Linked DNA regions of Homo sapiens: regions 2 and 3 are each linked to region 1. Evidence: promoter capture Hi-C in 16 types of primary human blood cells and fetal thymus (Javierre and others, 2016). All regions are on one chromosome and are shown on one strand. Each heading gives the region's core, a stretch centred on a gene start or on the middle of the fragment in contact. The rest is flanking DNA. Distances are from core to core; before and after follow the strand shown. Region 1 holds the start of TWF1 (twinfilin actin binding protein 1). Region 2 overlaps TMEM117 (transmembrane protein 117). Region 3 overlaps TMEM117 (transmembrane protein 117).

What was found. The method cuts DNA at HindIII sites, captures the fragments that hold promoters and counts their contacts. A CHiCAGO score of 5 or more calls a contact.
Region 2: a fragment that was not itself captured here is called in contact with the fragment with the promoter of TWF1 in region 1 in 1 of 17 cell types (M2 macrophages); the score reaches 5.0 in M2 macrophages.
Region 3: a fragment that was not itself captured here is called in contact with the fragment with the promoter of TWF1 in region 1 in 1 of 17 cell types (M2 macrophages); the score reaches 5.3 in M2 macrophages.

Annotation. Positions count from the first base shown.
Region 1 is chr12:43,805,063-43,809,667 of GRCh38, forward strand. It overlaps TWF1 (twinfilin actin binding protein 1), which reads right to left and starts at 1,255. Exons shown (of 9, transcript NM_002822.5): 1 at 1,159-1,255. The coding sequence starts at 1,183. It also overlaps a transcript of TMEM117 not described here. RefSeq lists a silencer at 951-1,430. The HindIII fragment of the contact is 5,668 bases long and covers 100-4,605 here.
Region 2 is chr12:43,937,408-43,941,812 of GRCh38, forward strand. The region is part of intron 2 of TMEM117 (transmembrane protein 117); the gene reads left to right. Among named protein-coding and RNA genes, the nearest start is that of TMEM117, 100 kb to the left of the region's middle. The HindIII fragment of the contact is 8,309 bases long and covers 1-4,405 here.
Region 3 is chr12:43,954,812-43,959,184 of GRCh38, forward strand. The region is part of intron 3 of TMEM117 (transmembrane protein 117); the gene reads left to right. Among named protein-coding and RNA genes, the nearest start is that of TMEM117, 120 kb to the left of the region's middle. The HindIII fragment of the contact is 3,231 bases long and covers 600-3,830 here.

The sequences.
Region 1 (4,605 bases), core at 5-2,504:
TAACTCTGGTTATATTTTTCTAACTTGCATTTCTCAAAAGCTAGATTAAACTCATTGAATAAATATGTATTTAATAACTAACCCTTGTGTTCCTATTAAAGCTTCAATTTCGTTCTAATTTCGTTCCTGTGTTGTCTATTAGCAGCAAGAACCACTATGTAAGTAGGTAGTGCTTGCTATAAGGCTCAAGCATGAGAGTCAATAACTACATATTTATATATCGAAATTAATGCGGATAAATAAAACAAAGTTTTCAGATTTGAGACTATTTTGCTTCTGCGTGCGTGCAGGGGGATGTGTGCGGTGGTGTCAAAAATCTTTACGAATAAAACATACAATTAAGTGTTCATCTGGGAGAAAGACTCGCTATTAACAGTAAGAGCTTGAGTTTACACTAGAACTCGTTAAGTGATCGCGAGTAACCCGGGGATATATTATTTGACTCTTGATGAGGTGAGTACCTGCAGGCTGCCCAATTTCAAACCAGGAAATAATGGAGGTCAGATATAACTGCATATTGAACTGTCTGCACGCATTACATGCAACCATACAGATCAGTTTCCCTTGGGGAGTATCTAGGAAAAAGATCAAAACACACGCTTACACTCGAGATTTCTCAGAACATAACTCTCATTTTCCTATTTGGAGAGAAAATGCGGGAGAGTTTTGGGAAGCACCCCTACTGATGTGAGAAAGATTCTGGCATGGTTCTTTTTGTAATCAAAGTCCTGTAATATTCTCCTTTGGACCATGAAAAAGAAAACTCGCCTGGTTCTCGACAGCGTACTGAAGCCCCAGTCGCCTCCACTGTCCCAGCTCTTCCCTACGTGACCAAAAGGGGGAAAGTTGGGCGACTGTCGGGGACGGTGGAAGGCACGCCCCCTTCAACCAGGCCGCCTCGAAAGCCAATTTCCTTCGCTCCCCCGAATTTCGGATCAATCTGCAACGTGACGGCAGCAGGGACCGGGCTGGAGGAGGACGCAGGCCGGCAGCGCCCGGGAAGCAGGAGCGCGGAGAGGCGCCGAGGCCCGGCTCGCCCCGCGAGACCGACTTCCGGAGCTCCCGGCCCGACTCCAGCCCTGCCGGTCCTGCAGCCCTCCCGGCTCTCCCGGCTCTCCCGGAAGCCCCTTCCCTGCGAGTCGCGCCGGGCGCTGTTACCTTGGATGCCGGTCTGGTGGGACATGGCGGCGGCCGCTAGCTCCCGGCTCCGGCGCTGAGTGCAGCCAGCGGCCCCGGCCGGCGGCCCCAGGAAGTGGCTGCTCCTCCGCCGGCCCCGGCGCGTCATCCGCCCGCGACCCGCGGCCGCCCCGCCCCGTGAGGTTGACTGAGTGCCCGAGCGTCCCCGCCGCCCCGCCGCCCTTCCTGGCCGCCGGGCTGCGGTCCAGCCCCCGGCCTCGCTATCCTAGTTCTCTGCTTGGGGTCCTGCTTCTGCTCTTGCCGCCGCCTCTCCCGCTTCTTCCGGGGGGGACATGCCGCAGAATCTAGACTGCTCAGTGCTCCGACGTCTGCTCTCTGACAACCCCGCCGACGCCGCCATTCGCTGCCTCAGCAAAGGGGTGCTCAAAAACGGAAGTGATCATTTTACCAAATAGGCATTTTCCAGCTTAAAAAAGATGTGCACATTATTTTTCTTGGTTTACTCTTCCTATAATCGATACCGTTTAGTGTAGAAAAGCCTTCTCCTTGCTCCATTGTTTTGAAAGAATTAATATAGACTGCCTCTCATCAAATTTTTCCACGATTTTAAATTAAGTTAATCTCAGACTGTTAACTTTTCTTTTCAGCTGGACACATTTAGAGACTCAGTGTATCTTTCTCTTCACTCCGGAAAGAGACAGCCACTAAGAGATTAGCTGATTTGAGTATCCCTCTGTGGTCGATTATACCATTGCAAATCCTGCTCTGCTTTAGGTTGGCAGTTTATTATTTAATCCAGTAATTATTCAAAATTCACTTGGACAGATTTGTAAGGTAGCAGCAGATATTACTTAAAAATCTTTTCCTTTCCTGCTTTTACAAACATGTAGTTCCTTCCTGAAAGGTAATGTTAGTTTTGTGGGGGGTTTGGTTTTTTTTTGGTACTGCTTCTCTACTGCTACTAGGTGGGAAGCTAGTTCTTATTTTTAGGGCCTTGAAGTGACACATACACAAAATTATAATCTGCTAATGAAGAAATAATTTATTCAGGTCAATAATATAAGTGCAAGTTAATCACTGTTCCAGTACTATACGATGTATTTTTCATGAGTGATGAACAGGCCTGCAATTGTTTTTCTTTACAAGAATCACAGCAAACAAGGTTATGTTCTATTGCCTGTTATCTGAGCTCTGTTTTTCAGACATATTCTCATATTCAGGAATAAACTAAATCTGAGTTTTATGACTTGTATGGATTTAAGAAATGTAGGGAGGAGTTTCATTCTAATCAAATTCTTCCTGACACAATGGTTCACCCTGATTTACCAGTTTTTGACTACATTGCTGAGCAGAGAGAAAATTGCAGAGTTGACTTGCAGTATTTTGACTGATTCATGTCCTAGTGCTTCGGGGAAATTGCTTAAGGAAGTTGGCGTTGCTCAAAAGTATAGTTGAGCAAAATATAATCCTTCCATATTCGTGCTTGGGAAAGGCCACTGTATTCTCAGTCCTGAAGAAGAGGAATGTCTAGTTAGGTTGGGACCACCCTGACAGCCACCAGAAAGTGCTTATTTACTGCCAGTACAATAGTTTGACTTAAAAGCTGCAAGCGTCTTGGGTACCTTGCTCTGCTCTAGCCACAAATATTTTCCCACTTTTCTTCATCTATTGTGTCTCCATTTAGTGAACATTTGCCAGAGCTGTCATGAGAATAATACCTTAGATTTGTATGGTAGTTTACAGTTTACAAATAATATATAATAGACTTATTTTGAGTACCAACATCCTGTGTGACGAGCTGAAAAAAATAGCAGGTTTTGTTTTTTAACTTTAAGAGGTTTGGAAATTGAACCACAGAGTTGGGAAGTCAGCAGGTTTCAAGGCTAAGACAAGTGTCTGTAAGAAACAAACCATTTGAAAACAATGTATGCAGATAAGAGGGTTTATTATAAGGATATTGGAGGATCTTATAGATCTTGACAACTTGGTTGTCACCTCTGCTTTTCTCTTCTTTTTCTCCAAATAAGATCTCTCTGCTTGTGCAGTCAAAATGGCTGAATATGGCTACCCTACACTTTCCAAATTGACAGGGTTGTAGCTGCATGCAGAGATTACATAGCTCTTCTAAGTCCAAGTTTAAAGTTCCTAAGAGAAAGCACGTGAATGACCCTGCTTGGCTTGTGTCAAATCATTCTTGGCCAAGGTGGCTGGTTTACCCAATATACACTGCCCATGAGTGAAAGGCAATTATCACAGGAGGGGAGATGGATCTTGGGTGTGGGAAACAGGTGTAGAATTCCTACTTTTTACAGTTTGGTAGAGGTAATGTTTAGAACCTAAGATGGTGGTCACAAAACACAAATGCTTATGGGGTCAGTTAAATAACATAAATGAATGAAGCTAATAAATGGAGACTGTGGCAATGAGAGGGAGCACAGGATCCATCTAAAATGAGCTACTACTAGGCCAAGTGGGATGGCTGACACCTGTAGTCCCAGCTCTCAGGAGGCTGATGTGGGAGGATCACTTGAGTCCAGGAGGTAGAGGCTGCAATGAGCCATGATCACCCCACTACACTCCAGCCTGGGCAACAGACCCTGTCTCAAAGGGGAGAAAAAAAAAAAAAAAAAAAAAAAGGAGCTACTACTACTCAATTCAATTCTGACTGACTGATGCTCTGTGGGAATTCAAGCGCAAGGTGACCAATCTTATGTTTTGCAAGTGATGTCGGAAACTGGGATTTTATGTAAAATCTCTATTTCAATTATGTAGGAAAACAAAACAAAAAGAGAACTATAACTGCAAGTCAGGTTTGACCTATGAAATGGTAGTTTAGGACTTCTGACCTAGATCATCTGTGTGGTCAATTGCCAAATAATGACATTTTAAAATCACAGCGTCCATAAAGTCTTTTTACCATAGAAGAGACTATGATGCGTGCCACATTAATGTGAGCAGTATACATGTTTGTGTATAGTGCATATACACAGGAAACTAAAAAAATCATTCATCCATCCATCTTGTTTCTTCTCTGAATTGAAACCTTTTTGATAGATTCATTTCTTCTTTACTTGGTGAGGTAATTATAAAGAGCTGCACTATTTGCGTTAGATTTTCCTAGAGAAGAAACCCTGCTGTAAAATTTTTAAAAACACATAGAAGTTGTATGACCATGAACAACATTATTTAACCTAAGTCTCCATTTTCTCTCTTGTTATATGTCATACCCATGTCTCATGGTTGTCATGAAAATCAAGTGAAATATGACTTTATGAAGCTCTAACATGTATGAATGCTCAATGTATGTTAGGCTTCATATTTTGTTAGAATTAAGTCTAACACAATACATTACAATACAGTATGATTCAAAATAAAAGGTCATTTAAAACAGAGCAAATGGAGTTAGATTGAATTTCCAAACCTCAAAAGCAACAATCCAAAGTTGATTTCTTATATAGGTTCATAAAA
Region 2 (4,405 bases), core at 789-3,288, 130 kb after region 1:
GTGCAACTTTTTTCCACAGTAGTCAAAATTGGAGAAAACGAACTGTAGCTGTACATCAGAGTTGGGTGTTTGCTGGGGATGTGTAAGACAAATATAGGGTATACAGAAATGTATGTGGTGTTGATGAAAAGGCTGATAAGGAAGCAGGAGCTTCTCGCCAAATAGGAGGGAACAGAATTTAGGAGGTGGCTTATAGATGGGGAGAAAGTTGGGGAGGAGAGCAGCTTAAAGAACTGAACGGCTCAGAGGGCAACTATAATAGGACCTAGATGTAGAAAGATAGGATTCCATACAGTGGAATATTATTTGTTCATTTATTTGTATAGCCTTTTTTTTTAAAATCCACTGGACAAATAACTTAAGACATACTGTGTGCCAGGTACTATGCCATGAGGACATAGTGGTAAAGAAGATCAATCTGGTCTCTACTGTGCTACAGTTTATAGACAGGTGTAGCACACATATAGTAGACAAAAAGTATACATATCTTTGGGTCTCAGTGTTATAGACCACAGGCTTTTAGGCTCCCGTGTAATAGAAATTTACATAAGGCCAAGTAGATTAGCCAGACAAGGCTTTATTTTGCGGCTTGTGCTCAAGCTCAAGGGAGACAGTGGAGGTAAAAGAATTCTCTGTCTGGCTCCCTGAAAAGAGCCCGTAGGGATTTTTTATTAGGCAATGTGCAGGAACTGACATCAGGGGGAGGGTGTGCAGGCTGGGCTGGGTAGAGCATGTGAGGGCTGGGGTATGCAGGACAGCATATCTAGTTGTGATGGTTTGAGGTAATGGGCCACCTAGTGGTCTGGCTGGGGGCAACAAGGCTATATTATATATTATTATATATTATATATTATATTATATATTTATTATATTTAATATATATATTAGCTAATCCTAAGGCTTAGTTAAATTGCTCTTCATAACTCTGGCTAGGGTAATTGCTTCAGGACCCAAATGAGCCCGAATAGAATGAATCTCATAATTTTCTCTAGAAGTGCTAGGGCAAAAGCGTTATCTTTTCATCCATGGACAACAATGAAGAAGCAGCCCTCAGGTTGTTATGGTCATCTTGGGACAACAAAGGGTGTGTGCATGTGTCTTGGGGGAGAAAGTAGTGGGAGCCTGCTAGGATAAGACGCCACACTGAGGAAATGGAGCTGGGAAATAGAGATTAATCAAGTCTTGATAATATTATCTGAGTGCTGGATCAGGCTTTGCTTGAAGTCATTCTATGCCTTTAGTTAAACTAGTTCTACAAAAATTTTGTTTAGAGAACAGACATGAGAAAAAAAGATGGAAAATGTGAGAAGGGCCGGGCATGGTGGCTCATGCCTGTAATCCCAGCACTTTGGAAGGCCAAGGTGGATGGATAGCTGAGGTCAGGAGTTCCAGACCAGCCTGGCCAGCATGGTGAAACCCCATTTCTACTAAAAAATACAAAAATTAGCCAGGCACGGTGGCGTGTGCCTGTAATCCCAGCTACTCGGGAGGCTGAGGCGGGAGAATCACTTGAGCCCAGGCGGTGGAGGTTGCAGTGAGCCGAGATTGCTCCATTGCACTCCAGTCAGGGTGACAGAGTGAGACTCCGTCTCAAAATAAAAAAAAAAATAAAAAATAAAAAAAGAAAAGAAAATGTGAGAAGGAAGCCAATAAAGAATCCTTATAATTTAATCTAGTTTAAATTTAGTTTTTGTTTTCGCTTTTGTTATTTGCAACAGGAATATTACTGGTATGTGGAATGCCTGCTATGCTGATTTTTTGACTATTATATCTTTTGACTCCAACAAACCAAATATACTCCTTTAAGTAGCTGCAGATTCTATTTGTTTCTTGTATATATGGGTGGGCCAAATCATATATAGGTTGGCCAAATCATATATAGGTTTTAGAGCAGAAGACTTAATGGACAGTAGTGTTAATTTCAGTTTGGAGTCCTCTTGAGGAATGAATCCCTTCATTTGTCCTTTTATATTTCCTAGTCAGGGTCTTATGTGTAATGCCATACTTTTTCCTCTAAATTAAATCTTACTCTGAGTTTTTGCTTACCAAGGTAAGCAGAGAGTACAATATTAATAATATTTCACATCACCTTTTCTATCACTAAGGTTTTATAGGAGTTCCAGGGCTACAGTTACTGAAAAGACTCCTTTAGCTTGTTTTTACTTCTGCATCCCTTCTCCTACTGCCACTTCAGTAATGGTCTTCTACCACTTTGGCACAATGACTCAGACTAAGGTGCCTGGGATCTACTCAGGTCATTGTGCACCTAATAGAGGTGGGTGGCTGCCCTAACTGGCACCATTCCCCTGGGACTAGCTTAGTTTGATAACTCAGACTTCCAAAGCCATGTGTATTAGTCTGTTCTCATTCTGCTAATAAAGATATACCTAAGACTGGGTAATTTATAAAGGAAAGAGATTTAATCGACTCTTAATTCCACATGGCTGGGAAGGCCTCACAATCATGGCAGAAGGCAAAGGAGGAGCAAAATCACATCTTGCATGGCAGCAGGCAAGAGAGAGCTTGTGTAGAGGAACTCCCATTAATAAAACCGTCAGCTCTCATGAGACTTATTCACTACCACAAGAACAGCACAGGAAAGATTCGCCTCCATGATTCAGTTACCTCTCACCAGGACCCTCCTACAACACTTGGGAATTATTACAATTCAAGGTGAGATTTGGGTATCAACATGACCCTTGATACCTTGGCCTTGACCAACATTCATGTAGTCATCCCCAAATGAGGCTCTGCCACCTTGGAGACCTAAATGCTTGTATTCTTTATGAACCCAGAAGCCCTCGGTCTATCTGATCCCTGCTTTAACAACCTTCCAGAGGTAGGGCTCCCCACATCTCCTACCTAGAAACACAAACACTTCTCCTTCTCCTCTGAGACTCTTTAGTGTATTTCTTTGCACAGGCTCCATGTGAAAATCACTCCTAAAGAAAAGGGACCTAGAACTCTCAATTTAAAAAGTCTAGCAGTGAGGTAGAAAGGAAATTCTTCTTTCCATTCTTTTGGTGAAGAGAACACAGCAGCAAAAAGGCCAAGAAACCAAGTAGTTTCTCCATAATTCTCCCTGTCACAGTTGTCTACCTCTATTTTCCACAACATATGTTTGCTCATTTTATATACACTTTTTTTTTTTGAGATGGAGTTTTGCTCTTGTTGTGCAAGCTGGAGTGCAATGGTGTGATCTTGGCTCACTGCAACCTCCAACTCCCGGGTTCAAGTGATTCTCCTGCCTCAGCCTCCCAAGTAGCTAGGATTACAGGCGTGCACCACCACGCCTGGCTAATATTTTTGTATTTTTAGTAGAAACCGGGTTTCACCATGTTAGCCAGGCTGGTCTCGAACTCCTGACCTCAGGTGATCCGCCTGCCTCGGCCTCCCAAAGTGCTGGGATTACAGGCATGAGCCACTGCACCTGGCCCATAATATATACTTTTAAATATGCTTTTATATCATTAATCTTGTTAGAATTTTATGACATCTTAGTGATCCTAAACCTACTGTATTTCCAGAAAAAATTCTGAAGTTCTAGGCCATTTCACCTGACTTTAGCCAACATTCATAATCATCAATCCCTGTGCCCTCCCACCCTCTCCTTCACATATACAGGTTTGTGTCCCACTTTAATGCTTTTGATTGTTCTAAGCTGTATTTTCTAATTTCTTTGACTGTATTGAAGGTAACAGTCTATATACTCCAAGATGGATCTTATTAATAACATAAATACACACTCAGATTTACAAATATTCATATATCTGTGATTAAAATAGTCATGTTTTTGGCCATGTCAGAAATGTATCCCTCTTAGTGATGTTTTCACTTCTGTTGGCCTGTAAGGATTGTTGTCACTTGGTTGTCTCCTGAAACTCCTCTAAAAGAAAGTCATAAAATTCTGAATTCTGGGACCTATAGACCTGTAGGAAAAGTGGCACATAATTTATTTTCCAAACCAGCATACCTAAGAAAGGAAGGGGTTACTATTAATAATTATGCCAGGACAACAATTATAAACCACTACTGTCCCAGGGAAACCACATATATAGTCACCCTAAAGGGCAGAGACAGTGTATTTCCATCTGACATCCTCAGGCAGTTCCAAGGTTCTTGGTCTGATTACATTGCATGGGAGAAGTCCTTCATGAGAACAGTAAGCTGAGGGCAGTCTATGTGTATATGTTTCTAACATTCGAGGGTTACTTACAGAGTTAACCTTTAAGTAGCTTATGGGAAATTTTTATAGTACAATTTGACTGAACACTTGGGTCATACTAGTTCTGGACTTAATATTTTGCAGCACTTTTATTGTTCTCTTCAAATGAATTTCAAGTCATGTTAACCTGCCATTTTGTTCTAATGACACTAATGGCTGAAATTAGTGGCAGACGATGAG
Region 3 (4,373 bases), core at 965-3,464, 150 kb after region 1:
TGGCAGAGATACAACAAAAAAAGAAAACTTCAGGCCAATATCCCTGATGAACATTCATGCAAAAATTCACAATAAAATATTGGCAGCAGACTGAATCCAGCAGCACATCAAAAAGCTTATCCACCACGATCAAGTTGGCTTCGTCCCCAGGATGCAAGGCTGGTTCAACATACGTAAATCAATAATGCAATTCACCACATAAGCAGAACTAAAGACAAAAACCACATAATTATCTCAATAGACACAGAAAAGGCTTTTGATAAAATTCAACACCGCTTCATGTTAAAAACTCAATAAACTAGGTGTTGAAGGAACATGCCTCAAAATAATAGGAGCCATTTATGACAAAAAACAGTCAATAACATATCAATAACATACCGAATGGGCAAAAACTGGAGGCATTGCACTTGAAAACTGGCACAAAACAAGGATGCCCTGTCTCACTACTCCTATTCAACATGGTGTTGGAAGTTCTGGCCAGGGCAATCAAGCAAGAGAAAGAAAGAAAGGGTATTCAGGTAAGAAGAGCGGAAGTCAATTTGTCTTTGTTTGCAGATGACATTATCCTATATGTAGAAACCCTATCATCTCAGCTCAAAAGCTTCTTAAGCTGATAAACAACTTTAGTGAAGTATCAGGATACAAAGTTAATTTGCAGAAATCACAAGCATTCCCATACATCTACTGCAGACAAGCAGAAACCCAAATCATGAATGAACTCGCATTCACAATTGCCACAAATGAATAAAATATCTTGGAATACAGCTAACAAGGGAAGTGAAGGACCTCTTTAAGGAAAACTACAGACCGGTCAAGGAAATCAGAAAGGACACAGGCAGATGGAAAAACATTCCACGGTCATGGATAGGAAGAATCAATGTCATGAAAATGGCCATACTGCCCAAAGCAATTTATAGATTTAATGCTATTCCCATTAAACTACCGTTGACATTCTTCACAGAATTAGAAAAATCTATTTTAAAATTCATATGGAACCAAAAAAGAGCTCGCATAGCTAAAGTGACAGTTGTAAGCAAGAAGAACAAAGCTGGAGGTATCATGCTATGATGCCTTTAAACTTACTACAACACCACAGTAATCAAAACAGCATGGTACTGGTACGAAAATAGGCACGTAGACCATTGGAACAGAATAGAGAACTCAGAAATAAACTCGCACATCTACAACCATCTGATCTTCAACAAACATGACAAAAACAAGCAATGGGGAAAGGATTTCCTATTTAATAAATGGTGCTGGGAGAACTTGGTAGCTATATGCAGAAAATTGAAACTGGATCTCTTCCTTACACCTTATACAAAAATTATCTCAAGATGGATTAAAGCCTTAAATGTAAAACCCAAAACTATAAAAACCCTAGAAGACAATCTAGGCAATACCATTCAGGACATAGGCATGGGCAAAGACTTTATGATGAAATTGCCGAAAGCAATTGCAACAAAAGCAAAAATTGACAAATGGCGTCTAATTAAACTAAAGAGCTTCTGCACAGTGAATGAAACTATCATCAGAGTGAACAGACAACTTATGGAATGGGAGAAAATCTTTGCAATCTATCCATCTGACTAAGGTCTAATATCCAGAATCTATAAGGAACTTAAGCAAATTTACAAGGTAAAAACACAACCCTGTTAAAAAGTGGGCAAAGGATATAAACAGACACTTCTCAAAAAAAAAAAAAAAAAAAAAGACGTACATGCAACCAACAAACACATGAAAAAGAGCTCAATGTTACTGATCATTAGAGAAACGCAAATCAAAACCACAATGAGATACCATCTCATGCCAGTCAGAATGGCAGTTATTAAAAAGTCAGGAAACAACAGATGCTGGTGAGGTTGTAGAGAAATAGAAACACTTTTACACTGTTGGTAATGTAAATTAGTTCAACCATTGTGGAAGACAGTGTGGTGATTCCTCAAAGATTTAGAACCAGAAATACCATTCGACCCAGCAATCCCATTACTGGGTATATACCCAAAGGATTTATAAATCATTCTATTATAAAGGCACATGCACACCTATGTTCATTGCAGCACTATTTACCATAGCAAAGACATGGAATCAACCCAAATACCCATCAGTGATAGAATGGATAAAGAAAATGTGGTACATACACACCATGGAATAGTATGCAGACATAAAAAAGAACGAGATCATGTCCTTTGTAGGGACATGGATGAAGATGGAAGCCATCATCCTCAGCAAACTAATGCAGGAACAGAAAACCAAACATTGCATATTCTCACTTATAAGTGGGAGTTGAACAATGAGAACACATGGACACAGGGAGGGGAACAACAGACACTGGGGCCTGTTGGGGAAGAGTGGGAGTGGGAGAGCATTAGAGAAAAGAGCTGATGCACGCTGGGCTTAATACCTAGCTGATGGGTTGATAGGTGCAGCAAACCACCATGGCATACATTTACCTATGAAACAAACCTACTCATCCTGCACATGTACCCCAGAACTTAAAAAAAGAAAAAGCTATAAAAAAGGCAAGATATTCAAAGAAAAAGGAGCTAGGCAACCAACTATATTAAAATGAGAATTCTATAGTAATCACAGTTGAACTTTTGCAGTGACTATACAATATGCTGCATTATTTATATATAGGAATGAAGGCTTGAGAAAATGAGACATCAATAGAAAACTATTTTCTTCCATAGTAATGGGATTTGACTTGATTAAAAATTATTCCAAATACATTTTCTAATTTCCTCTCTTTTCAACTATGTACCCTGAACCAGTCTATTTAGAAATTATTTATTTGGTATTAATAAAGAGAGGCATGCTCCCAAGTTCAGGTCAAAATCTTTACTGACTAGAAACTGAAAAGGTCACCCAGGGCTGGGAAGGATTTTTCAGTTTTGGGTACTTCAAACACTTTTTGAAGTTGTCTTTCTGAATAATTTCTTAGTAATGTAATTTTTATAGCATCCATAGTATAAAGCCCTAATTTAGGAAAGGCTTGCTTGGTCTTTTCAAATATTCCTGTTCCCCAAAGGATGATAATGTATAATGTACAAGGAAGGAAGTGGTGGGGGAAGCAGTGCTAGCACACCATGACGTTGATCAGAATATTCTGAAAAGAGCCACTTGATGGCAGCAAAAGGCATGTTTTCAGCACTGATTGTCTCATTAATGAATCACAGGAAAAGAAGGGTATCTTCCCCCTTCTGAATTTCTGAAACTTGGTGTTGAAATATTCTCCTGCTGTGTTGTTAATGGGCTTTTTGAGGAAATACATAGTGAACTCTTTAATAAGCACTTGTTATTTTGTGATGTGCTTGGCCCCTTTTACTTTATGTTCCAAAACAGGTTTAAGTAACAGTATGCATAGATACTTATATGCTTGCATATGCATCTATATGTTTATAGACTTATTTTCATATTATAATGATAAATACTGTGTCTAGCACTGAGGGAATTAGACATTTGACTCACTGGTAAAAATCCTTCTGTGAACTGGAATGTTTCCAAAGAGCGCATACTATTTGGGGCAGAATATGAAGAAGCTGATTTTTTTAGTGTTAATCAAAAGGAAAAGTTCCATTTTTCTTGATACAAAGCCTTTTCCAGAGAATCAATTACCAATATTAATACATCACTATGTGTTAAGTATTTCAGAGAGAGAAATTGAGAAATAAGACAAAGTGATACAGGCAATTTTGAAAATAAATGTTACTATTTATTTGAAAATAAATGTTACGTATTCAGGACCTGAACAACGTGAAGGTGAAAGTTAGGTGGTGACTGTAATGAGAATGGAATAGACTCTGTCTCTCTGTTCTGTTTCCTTTTTGATAAGCTTTAGTAAGAAGTCACGTGGAGAACTCATCTGGCTGGGTGTGGTGAGTACCCTCAGTAAGTGTGATCTGACCAGGACGACTGCACCAAAGGAGGTGGCAGGAGAGAATATCTGAAATGGAGACTTTCCTAAAGTGTAAAATGCATGGTTTCTTTTTTTGTTAGTTTGTTTGTTTGTTTTTGAGACAGAGTCTCACTCTGTCGCCCTGGCTGGAGTGCAGTGGCGGGATCTCGGCTCACTGCAAGCTCCGCCTCCCGGGTTCACGCCATTCTCCTGCCTCAGCCTCCCGAGTAGCTGGGACTGCAGGCGCCCACCACCACGCCCGGCTAATTTTTTTGTATTTTTAATAGAGACGGGGTTTCACCATGTTCGCCAGGATGGTCTTGATCTCCTGACCTCGTGATCCGCCCGCCTTGGCCTCCCAAAGTGCTGGCATTACAGGCGTGAGCCACCGCGCCCGGCCAAAATGCATGGTTTCTATGTGCTGAGGGGGCAGCAAAAGCAAGCAAGGATAAATAGGAAAAATAAATGAGGGAGAGAC